Linked DNA regions of Homo sapiens: regions 2 and 3 are each linked to region 1. Evidence: promoter capture Hi-C in human tissues and cell types (Jung and others, 2019). All regions are on one chromosome and are shown on one strand. The core of a region is centred on a gene start or on the middle of the fragment in contact, and the rest is flanking DNA. Distances in the headings are between cores, read along the strand shown.

Evidence for each region. The method cuts DNA at HindIII sites, captures the fragments that hold promoters and counts their contacts. A contact is called where the count stands out against the background at its distance.
Region 2: the fragment with the promoter of VSTM1 here is called in contact with the fragment with the promoter of ZNF331 in region 1 in 2 of the 25 tissues and cell types used here (lymphoblastoid cells and mesenchymal stem cells).
Region 3: the fragment with the promoter of CNOT3 here is called in contact with the fragment with the promoter of ZNF331 in region 1 in 3 of the 25 tissues and cell types used here (dorsolateral prefrontal cortex, hippocampus and lymphoblastoid cells).

What each region holds. Positions count from the first base shown.
Region 1 is chr19:53,536,134-53,539,980 of GRCh38, forward strand. It overlaps ZNF331 (zinc finger protein 331), which reads left to right and starts at 2,012. Exons shown (of 6, transcript NM_001079906.2): 1 at 2,012-2,163; 2 at 3,083-3,149. RefSeq lists enhancers at 1,740-2,256, 2,042-2,091. The HindIII fragment of the contact is 21,395 bases long and covers 1-2,787 here.
Region 2 is chr19:54,062,647-54,066,335 of GRCh38, forward strand. VSTM1 (V-set and transmembrane domain containing 1) reads right to left here and starts at 1,251. Exons shown (of 9, transcript NM_198481.4): 1 at 1,098-1,251. The coding sequence starts at 1,131. The HindIII fragment of the contact is 40,052 bases long and covers 1-3,689 here.
Region 3 is chr19:54,135,772-54,139,921 of GRCh38, forward strand. It overlaps CNOT3 (CCR4-NOT transcription complex subunit 3), which reads left to right and starts at 1,991. Exons shown (of 18, transcript NM_014516.4): 1 at 1,991-2,222. The HindIII fragment of the contact is 23,783 bases long and covers 1-4,150 here.

The sequences.
Region 1 (3,847 bases), core at 762-3,261:
GAACTATCATGTCTCTGTCTCCCTAGTTAAAAGGAAATAGCAGACTTGTTACTTTTATGAAAATGGATTGAGATATGTTACTGATTTTTTAGTAATAACAGCTACCTTATCTTAATTGTTATATATGACTGTGTGTTTCATGTGGATGATCCTGTTCAAACAGTCATACATTGTACTATCTTTCTTGTGGTTTTACCAGTGAGGAAACTTTACCACACTGTGAAGTTAATAACTATCAGAGCTCAGATTAACACCCTCAAATCAGACCACAGAGCCTGTGTTAATTTCACCAAAACATGTCTGCTCAAATTATATGTACCATTTTAACCTACCCTTTTCCCTTGTTGATTCTTCAGAAGTTTTCTTAATTAATGAGTCAGTATTATTAGGAAATGTACTCTATGTCATTGTATAACAGACCATGGTTTAATCTGATTTTCCTTTATCCTCCACTGCAAGATTTTCATTTTTAAAAATTATTCTCGACTGGGTGTGGTGGCTCACGCCTGTAATTCCTGCACTTTGTGAGGCCGAGGCAGGCGGATCACCTGAGGTCGGGAGTTCGAGTCCAGCCTGACCAACATAGAGAAACCCCGTCTCTTCTAAAAATACAAAAAAAATTAGCCGGGCGTGGTAGCGCATGCCTGTCATCCCAGCTACTGGGGAGGCTGACGCAGGAGAACCCCTTGAACCCAGGAGGCGGAGGTTGCAGTGAGCCGAGATCGCACCATTGCACTTGAGCCTGGGCAACAAGAGCGAAACTCCGTCTCAAAACAAACAAACAAACAAACAAAAAATTATTCTCTGGAAATTCTGGGTAACGTCAGTGGATTACATCAATGTTAATCTTCTGGTTGTGGTATTATATACTACAATCACCAGCTGAGGTAACCAGGTGAAAGGTACACAAGATCTCTCAATTTTATTTCTTGTAACTACATATGAATCTAAAGTCTATCTAATTAAAAGAGAAAAAGATTTTCAGAAAAAAAGCATTTTGTGAACATACTTCAACATTGTGTACAACTATAGCTACTTCCTTGGCATAAATACCAAAAAGTGGGATTTTGAGTCAAAATGAGACTGTGGTTAAGTACCTGCAACATCCTGTAGACCCTGTGACGTTAGTACTTGGAATGAGAGCGGGACTCACGGGGCATAACTGCTACCTGTACATTGTTTACAATGCAGCAAGCAAGGGACACCGAATAGCAGCTCCGGCAGCCTGTGCTAGCGGCCTGCAGAGAATTCCAGGTGACGCTCCAGAGGGGCTAGGAGAGGATACCCTTCTGAGGACAGCCATGGCTCGCCCGGCATCACCCCACTCAAGAGGCCAGACGGGGTCCCAGCTGGGGTGACACAGCTCCTTTCCCAGTCGGGAAGGGGCGTCTGCAGGGACCAGGAAGGGCTTAGCTTGGGGCTGCCCGCTCCGGCACCGACCTGGGACGCGCCCTGAGGCCCCTGCCTGGGACCGTCCCGGACTACATTTCCCAGAGACCATCCAGGAGTACGCCGTGCTGCATGCTGGAACACGGGGCTTGGGGCTCTGGTTTCCCCCGACGGCCCCGCGTCCTCTTCTAGCCTCACCCTCTCCCGAGGCCCCAGCGTTGGGGGACTACCGGGTGCGTCTGCGGCTTTGGGAGAGTGGGAGGAGGGAAAGGGATGGGAGGGGTGCACGCACACGTGTCAGTGTGTCCGCGTGTCAGCATCTGTGCAGGCGCACGTGTGTGTCGGGCTCTGTTGTGTCTGCACATGCGTGTCGGCATCTGTGCGTGCGCACACGCCCGTCAGGGTCTGTGTGCCCGCACAGGCACGTCAACAGCTGAGCACGCTATGTATCGGGGGTCTGTGTACGCTCACATACGTGTCGGGGTCTGGGTACGTGCACATACGTGTAGGGGTCTGTGTGCACATGCGTGTCGGGCTCTGCTGCTGTCTGCGCGCTGCGGCCGCTGGGTGCGCGTGCGCATGCGCGCTGGCCTCCAGGGGGTGGCGGGACCGAGTGTGTGACGCACTTGCGTGGGAGTACGAGGCTGACGCGGCGGCCCTGTCCCCGTAACTGTGACACGGGTGCACGCGAGCGTCATTGGGGGCGATGGGGGCCGTGCTGGGTGCGCGTTTGCACCAGTGACGCAGCCGCTGCATCTCCGCCAGTCCGCGCAGGTGAGATTGGTGCGCGTGGCTCCGAGGGGAGACGGGCACGGGGCTTCTGACGGTGACGCACTTGCTGGAGAGTGTGGGGTGACACAGCCGGGCTCTCCCCATAACTGGTGACCGGGGGTGCTCCAGAGGCTTTGGGTCAACGCAGCCCGTGCCTGTGAACCTCGGCGGTGCGTCCCTGGGACTCTGCTCCGTGAGGTGCGCTCTGGGGGTTGTGCGGGGGCAGCGGTCGGGACGGGTCTCCGTGGCCCACGGATGCACCTCTGCACCGTGTGGGGTGGTGGGGCCCGTAGCATGGCCGTGCTGGGCGTTAGTGGGTATGAGGGGCGCAGATGTGTCTCAGGACAGAGTGAGCTGTGGTGAGGCTGAGCTGTGCAGACTTGTGCTGGGATGGGTGATCGGGCCTTCTGGGTGACGCAGGTGTGTGTGACAACACAACCTGTAGCTTCAGCGTCTCTGTGCTGGGATGGATGATCGGGCCTTCTGAGTGATGCAGGTGTGTGTGACAGTGCAACTTGTAGCTCCAGCGTCTCTGCTGCTTCCCCTGCCTTCACCTCCTAACCAAGCGGTACCTGCCTGAGAACAAGGGCCGCGGAGGGACGTGAGCGCCTGAGCCTCGCCTGGAAATTCACCAGCAAGAAGGCAGAAACAGCCATGAGGTGACGCTTTCAGAGCCAGAAGTGCTGTGCATGCAGGCCACCTGAGTGACAGGGGACGGTGGCCTCAGGAGTAGAATTCCTCCTGTAGAGGGACAGGTCCCTGATGTGGGAGACAGGGAGGGGGGCAGCTCCACGCGTCATCATCTCAATCGCCACAGCGTGCTCTTCAGGAATCTCCCAGAAACTCCATCTCGGGGCCTCGTATTTCTCATTGGTTTTATTAGGTATGGCAGGTGTTACCCTTCCGGTTCTGTTTTCCCCAGGCCAGCATCCTTCAGAAAAAGCATCCCCGAGGAGGAAGACGAATCGTTAAACATCTGAAAGGGTCAGGTGAGTATCCTTTTTTTTTTATATTAAATGATATGTGTTTATAAGACTTAAGACCAAACATTAAAGGTAGATGACCAAGATTTGAGTCCTGTTTCTGCCTCTTAGCTTTTTGAGCCTTCTGAAGATAGGCTTGTGAGGAGGGTGAAATGCATTAACACGCATAAAACCCATAGACGCGCACCCCTGAGTGGGAGTGCACAGTGAGTGCTGCTGTTTTGTGCTAAGTCTGGATGTCTGTACATCAGGAGCAACGTACATATGAAGGTAACTGGGATGGGTGTTTGCAGGTTCACAAAATGAACCACAGCCTCAAATGGCCTAGAACTGTTATCCTTAACCTGAGGGCCTGCCTTTAACTCCACTTACAACTTTCCAAGGGACATTCTGTGTATATTTACTGTATGTGATTATCAGTGTTAGTGTATCTGTCCCCCACCACCACCACCCTAAGGAGATACTCTGTAATTTCATGGCATTAAGAAGGATGGACATGCCCCAAAGACATTTAGACCCATTGGTCTACAATCGAAGGCTGTGTACCTTGACCACAATTATTGTTCAGGATGGTGGAAATGGTTAAGTAATTATACCACGTTCATTTCATGGAATACTCTGCAGCTACAAAGAAGTAAGTTTAGTTATAACCGTAAGAAAGAAAAATGCACCTGACATAATATTAAACACTACTAATAGTTATT
Region 2 (3,689 bases), core at 1-2,500, 530 kb after region 1:
CCAGGAGGTGGAGGTTGCAGTGAGCTGAGATCACACCACTGCACTCCAGCCTGGGAGACAAAGCAAGACTCTGTCAAAAAAAAAAAAAAATGCTCATCTAAGGTGCAAATGTGTGTAGGAGACGAGCATTACCCCACAAGGAAGGGCTGCACCCAGAAAAGGAGGAAGGAACTGAAGCAGACGAAGCACGTCGATGTCCACCGCACCCCCCGTGCACCAGGGAGGAACTGGGGCCTTAGGGAGGTGGAGCTCTGCTGGGTCAAGCCTAGAGTTTCTATGTAGTAAAGCCGAGATTATAACCCAGGTCATCCGTTTCACAGTGTGAGCTCTGTCTGAATACATCAGGTTCAATTGGAGGATGGTTAAAATCAGCCTAAGAATCGAGCTGGTCAGAAAATTGTCTTCTTGGGGCCAGGTGTGGTGGCTCACGCCTGTAATCCCAGCACTTTGGGAGGCTGAGGCGGGCGGATCACCTGAGGTCAGGGGCTCGAGACCAGCCTGACCAACATGGTGAAACCCCGTCTCTACTTAAAATACAAAAGTCAGCCGGGTGTGGTGGCCTGCACCTGTAGTCCCACCTACTCGGGAGGCTGAGGCAGGAGAATCGCTTGAACCTGGGAGACGGAGGTTGCAGTGAGCCCAGATCACGCCATTGCACTCCAGCCTGGGCTACAGAGTGAGACTCTGTCTCATAAATAAATGCATACATACATAAATAAATAAATAAGAGAGAGAGAGAAGAAAATTGTCTTTTTGCCCACAGCCTTGCACCCTGTAGATCCCTAAGCCCAGCCCTCCTCTATTCCGACGGAGGATGATGGCAGTACTGCGGTATTTAGCGGCTGCAGACTCGGAGACCCCACAGCAGCTCTGCCTTTCCCAGCGGAGTCTGTCCCCGTGTCTCTGCAGCGCGGCCTCCTCCTCGCTTGCATGTGGGCGGCAGAACTCACAGAACCCACAGCCCAGACCCACCCACCGCAGGTGTGCAACACCTGGAAGTCATTACTTCCACACACCGCATTTCCACCTGGACTGCCACTCCCACATGAGTTTTTCTCACCAGCCCAAGCCCATTCGTCCCAGTCCTGGAGACTCACCGAGGCAAAGCAGGGAGAGGAATTCTGCGGTCATAGCGTCCCTTCTGCCAGAACCAAGGCCCCGCCTTGGGTTTTACCCTTCAAAGGCGGAGCGGGACTGGGCCGGCCGCAGCTCTCCGGCTGCCCGGTTCGTCCCCAGGATGTGCAGATAGAGGAGGTTTTGCTCTGACACTCTGGTTCTCTGCCCCACTCTTGCAGTTTCCTTCTCACAACCGACTCAGGAAACAAGAAGCCGTCGATGATAACTTCTTCCCCATGAATCCGGTGTGTGTGGCCCCACCCGCCCGAGCTCTGTCCTACCTTATCTGAAGTTCTGCCAAGAGTTTTCTGTAAATGTAATTTTTTATTTTAAAACACTAATACCGGCCGGACGCGGTGGCTCACGCCTGTAATCCCAGCACCTTGAGAGGCTGAGGCGGGCGGATCACCTGAGGTCGGGAGTTCAAGACCAGCCTGACCAAAATGGAGAAACCCCCGTCTCTACTAAAAATACAAAATTAGCCAGGCATGGTGGCGCATGCCTGTAATCCCAGCTACTCCGGAGGCTGAGACAGGAGAATGGCTTGAACCCAGGAGGCGGAGGTTGCTGTGAGCCAAGATTGTGCCACTGCACTCCAGCCTGGACAACAACGGTGAAACTGTCTCAAACAAGCAAACAAACAAACATTAATACCTATAGCTTTATAGCTTCCGTGTACCCACTAGCCAGCTCCCCACAATGTTAACCTTTTTTTGGGGGGCGGGGGGGACAGAGTCTTGCTCTGTCACCCAGGCTGGAGTGCAGTGGCGCGATCTCGGCTCACTGCAACCTCTGCCTCATGGGTTTAAGGATTCTCCTGCCTCAGACTCCCAAGTAGCTGGGATTACAAGCATGCACCACCACACCCAGCTAATTTTTTGTAGAGATGGGATTTCACCATGTGGGCCAGGCTGGTCTTGAACTCCTGGTCTCTAGTGACCCGCCCACCTCAGCCTCCCAAAGTGCTGGGATTACAGGCATAAGCCACTGTGCCCGGCCAATGGTAATCTCTTATAATTACAGTACTTTTTTTTTTTTTTTTTTTTTTTGAGACAGAATCTCTGTCAGCCAGGCTGGAGTGCAGTGGCACAATCTTGGCTCACTGCAACCTCTGCCTCCCGGGTTCAAGCGATTCTCCTGCCTCAGCCTCCCGAGTTGCCGGGATGACAGGTGTCCGCCACCACTCTTGGCTAATTTTTTTTGTTCTTTTTAGTAGAAACGAGGTTTTGCCATGTTGCCCAGGCTGGTCTCGAACTTCTGACCTCAGGCGATCCGCCTGCCTCGGCCTCCCAAACTGCTGGGATTACAGGCGTGAGCCACCACGCCCGGCGTATGGCACATTTTCAAAACCAGAGACTTTGCACTGGCATCACACGTTTAACCAGGTTCCAGAGGTCACTCAGATCTCACCAGTTTGTGCATAATTCGTTTCTCTTTTTCTCTTCCTCTTCCTTCTATTTCTATTTCCTTTTCTCCTTTTCCTTCTTTTCTCCTGCTCTTCCTCCTCTTCCACCTTCTTTTCCTCCTCCCTTTTCTTTGCCTATGGGTATAGTTCTGTAACATTTTATTGCCTGTATGTATGGCTTTATAGAACCACCGCCACAATCAAGACACAGAACTGTCCCACCACCACGTAGGAACTCCCTCATGCTGCCCCTTTATAATCGCTCTCCCACCCTAGCACCTGCTAATCTGTTCTACGTCTCTATCACTTTGTCACTTTGAGACTCTTGTATAAATGGAATCGTCCATCGCCTCACCTTCTGAGGGTGACCTTTTTCACTCAGCACAATGCCTGTGAGATTCATTCAAATGGTTGTGTGTTATGATGATGGATACATTAGCCGGGCGTGGTGGCACACGCCCATAGTCCCAGCTACTCAGGAGGCTGAGGCAGGAGAATCGCTTGAACCCGGGAGGCGGAGGTTGCAGTGAGCTGAGATCACGCCACTGCACTCCAGCCTGGGTCACAGAGCAAGACTCCATCAAAAAAAAAGAATTATCTAATGGATACAATGTGTGTCACTGGGTTAGTGGATACCTGAAAGCCCTAACTTCATCATTTTGGAATCTATCCATGCAATAAAGTTACACTTGTACCCCATAAACGTATACAAATAAAAAATAATCGTCTGGGCATGATGACTTACCGCTGTAATCCCAGCACTTTGGGAGGCTGAGGCGGGATTACAGGTGTGAGCCACCATGCCCGGCCTATACTTTCTATCTTAATAACTACAAAAATAATAACTTGCTGGATGGGTCCCTGTGCCCACCCCGTCCTGTCCTAAGTGAGGAGGATGGGAAGAAAGCCATCGTCCTGTCCTGGTGCGGCTCTCAAACAGCTGGAAATGCTGGCTGCACAGGAAACTCTAAGGATCGGCAGCTCTAGCGCATGCTACCCTTGGCAGCTGTGTGGTCTGTGGATAGAGAAGGACCAACCTGTGGTTAGTGGAGGAAGAGGAGGAATATTGCTTTGATAAGCACATCCTCAGAGTTATAACAGAGGAGACAATAGTTATAAAATAAGAATGATATTTACGAAAAATAATAAGACTATTAACAAGAAACAG
Region 3 (4,150 bases), core at 741-3,240, 600 kb after region 1:
AAAAATACAAAAATTAGTCGGGCGTGGTGGCGGGCGCCTGTAATCCCAGCTACTCGGGAGGCTGAGGCGGGAGAATCACTTGAACCCCGGGAGGCAGAGGCTGCAGTGAGCCTAGATTGTGCCACTGCTCTCCAGCCTGGGGGACAAGAGCAAGTCTTCGTCTCAACAACAACAACAATAACAACAAGTTCCTCAGGTGACTCTGATGTGCAGCCAAGTTGGAAAGTCATCGCTAGATCCGCGGTGTGCAAAGTGAACTGCGGACCGTGGACTGCGGCACTTGTTAGAAAAGCAGAATTTGCATTTTAACACATTCCTAGGTGATTCCGGAGATGTCTGAGAAGCGATACTTTGTCCAGGGGCCACAGTTTGAATAGCAAAGCTCTAGAACAATAACTCTAGGCTTCATTCCCGTTGTCTGTGTGTGGGCCTACGAATATGCATTTTCGCAAGCATTCCTCCTCCCCCTTGCCTCAGACCATTCTGATGCGGGTGGTGCTGAACGGCTCCATCCTCCTTCACGTTCACCTCTCCCTGGGATTTATCTTACTTTCCACCACCTAGACAGGAAGGGGCGAATCTGGCTTCCCATCTCGGTTGTGTGACCCTGGGCAAATGCCTCCCAGTTCGTGGAAGTCTCAGTGTCTAGTTAAGTTTTCAATCACAAGTCATTCCTCACATTCATTCATCTATTCCTTTGACAAATGGTTACTGACTACTTCCTGCGTGCTAAGTGCTGGAGATGCAAAATCCAGACAGGGAAACCGAATAATTACGAAAATGACGGTAGACGTACAAAAATAAATCCTAACGAACAAGGCGCGCAGGAGCGCTCCGCCCGGGAGGGAGGTCAGGGAAGTTTTCTCTCCAAGAAGACAACAGAGCTGAGACCTGAAACGAGCAGGCATTAGGGAGCCACCCGTCTCCTCTGTACCTTCTGCAGCGTCCTCAACACACTAAGGAAGCGGAGACGCAGAGGAGAATGACTGTCCCACCATCTGGTCGCCTAACCAGGCAGGGGCAGGACAAAAACTCCATGCCTCACGCTTCCCAACCAATTCTGCTATGCACGGTGCCAGAGACTTAAAGCAGTGTCTCTGGTCCCTTTCTTCTTTCACTCAGCAAATAATGAATTTCAGAGATGTGCCAACATAGAGGCACTTGGAGAAAGACGAGGCAGCTGAGAGGGAAGCTGCTTACCTGGCCGGGACGCAACGGTTGCGACCAAGTCCCACTTCTGCCAGCTACATACACCCTCTTTCACACGCTCTACGAGCAGCTACCGCCCACTCGCCACGCTATTGGTCCAACTAGCATGAATGATAACTTTTAGGGCCAACGAAGAAAAAGGGGTGGACTTTCTTGCCCAGCTCCTCCCACTTGGCCCTGTGGCTGTTTTGATTGGCAGATGACTTCGGCTCGGCCCCCGCTTTAAAGGCACCTGTCTGTCTCCCATTAGGTACGCGGCCCCTAACGCCCACACTCCATGCCTTCCTCCGCTTTCCCCACCCACTTCCAGGACCAACCAATGACTTCAAGGCAGAATATGCCCCCGCAACCAATTAAAAAGAGCTCTAAACTTGACGGACGACTTCCCGCCCCTGGACTGTCGTAGCTCCTCCCCCAGACCAATTGTTTTAAGAGAGGGGGGCGGATACATCCAATCAGCACGACACAGGTCTCTTGATTGACGTTCGGGTCCTCGCGCTGGCGTGTTGTGCCCTGAGGCGGGAGGAGGAGGAGGAGCGGGGAGGAAAACCTGAGCCAATCCTAGCAGCCTGCGCGGGAGGCCAATCGAACGCCGCGCCTTGGAGCGATCACCCAATCCGCGAAAGGGGGCAGGGCGCATCCCTGCCAGGAACCAATAGAAAGCCTCCAAGGGTCAGGAGCGACGTTCAGCGGGAGCAATGACTGGCCTATATTCGGGACTCGGGGGCGGGTCGGCGCCAGAGACGAGAAGAGAGGAGGGGAGGCCTCCTCCGCCGCCGCCATCTTGGACCGGGCCCGGTCAGCTTCCGCGGAGCCATCGGCAGACGCCGCGGCCTCCCTTGAGCCCCGACCCCCGTCGTCAGAACAACCCCGGGCCCACTCCCCCAACCCCACTTCCGCTTCGCGCCGCTATCGCGATAGCGCCCGGGCCCGGGGCGCGAGAAAAAGGCGGCGGGCGCTCGCCTCCCCCGCCTGTCGCGATACGCTCCTCAGCGGCGGCGCCAGCTCCTGTGGTGAGAGCGTCAGGCTCGACTGGGCCGGACCCCTTCCCTTCCTCCCCCCGGCGCCATCGGCCGCCCTCCCCGCCGCCTCCCGCCCTGGCGACACCGCCGTCTGTCGCGACATGGCCTCCCCTCGCCTGCCCCCTGCCGCCGCCTCTGCAGCGCGGGGCTCCCGGCGGGGGGCGGCTCCCTCCCTCTCGCCCTCCCGTTCCTGCGCCTCTTTCACGTTCCTCAGCGCCTCCCGGGGGTCCTTCCGCGACCCGGACCCCGGGCCCCGCCCGCCGCCGCCTCCCCGCGTGGCATCGCGTCGGGCCCCCCGGTAGGGGTGTGAGGGTGCGAAGCCTCCCGGGCGCGAGGTGCCCGCCCCTCTCCGCGTCGGTATTGGCTCCTGGCTGGAAGGATGGAGGCGCCCCTGGTCCCAGGTGCCCGCCCTCTCGGGGCTCAGGTGCCTGCCCCCCTCGGCCTCGGTCCTTCGCGTTGTGGGGCAGCCTCCGCGCCGGGGCTTCTCCCTCGACGGTGGCGGGGAGGGGGGGTGGTGGTCGGGACGAGGACCCCAGCTGGGTGGGGGAGTCACCCTTCCCAGGACCGAGGCCGCCCTCCGCATCCCTCCTCACTGCTCCCGGGAGCGCAGCCTCCCCTGGATCTCAGGTTCCAGCTGCCCGTCTGTATCGGATGGGAGCCTCTTGGGAGAGGAGTGGAGGAGAAACTCCCCGTTAGTTGGAGCCTTTGCCGAAGTTTCCACCTCTGTAGTCTGCAGCTCTTCCCTCTCATAGCGAGTAGCGCCCTGGGTGGCTCCAGCCTCGCCATCCCGCTGCACTGGGCGCCTGCCTTTTTGGGGGAGTTTGGCTTTCCCCCACCTGGGGTACAGGACCGTCCTCAGTGTGGCCCACGTCTGGTCTCAGCTCTCACACTTCTTTGATCCTGGCGTCTGCCCCTGGCTTTGCAGCCTTGAACTCCCCTGCATCGTGACTCTCCGACCTTCTGGGTGTGGGCGTCTCCCAGTGATATCAGGACCACTGTGGTCTTGTTGCTGGGGGCTGCTGGGATCCCCTGGCGCTCAGGTGCCTGGTGAAAGACACTAAGCCGCCACGCTGTCCATGTTAGTGAGCTCCCACTGCGGGCAGCACCAGCCCCTCTTTCTGAGCAGTCCCTGCCTCTCAGTGCAGGGCGGCCACCCACCCCGGGGTGAGCTCTCCTGTCCTTTTGGTGAGGGGTTTTGATGTCTCCCCTCCCTCCCTTCACCCCTGCCTGAGTATGAGGCTTCTTCCATCTTCACACCAGTCTCCTCCTTTAGGGTGTCAGCTCTCCAAGGACCAAGAAGCCCACTGCCCTTGATATTTGCATCAGATCCCACACTGTGGGTTTGTTGACTTCCCATCTACCCTTACGCTGGGTGTCAGCAGTTGGAGAACAAGGGTTTCGCCTTCTGGCCCCGCTGCTGGTACCCCATGAGAGTAGGAAGCTTCCTAGACCCGGGTTCCTGTACTGCGAGGTGGGGGCTCTTCCCTCTGGGGCTGTGCCTTCTCTCCAGGGTAAGGACCCTTTCTTGGTGTCACCTCCCCCAGGGATAAGGTTCTTGCCATCCTTGGTATTGGTATGGCTGCTTTTCTGGATTTGAGGTGTCCACGCCTCTGCATGTGTCCCCACCGTAAGGCTGAGGACCCCTCTCGGATGCAGGTGCCCCCGGCTAATGCTTCCAAAACCCCCTCTTGATTTGTCACTGTATGGGGTAAGGCATAGTTTCCTGGCTGTGTGGATGTAAGATACCTGAGTCTCAAGCGGGAGACTCCACTGTAGACCCTGTCCCTGGGACCAGAGACTTCTCTGGTGTAGACTTTCCAAGGTGGGAGATTCCAGCCCCCCACCCTTGGCATGGGGCATCTCAGTGGAGATGACTACCTCTACCCCAGGCCCTAACGCATCCTTCTTCTGGAGTCTCA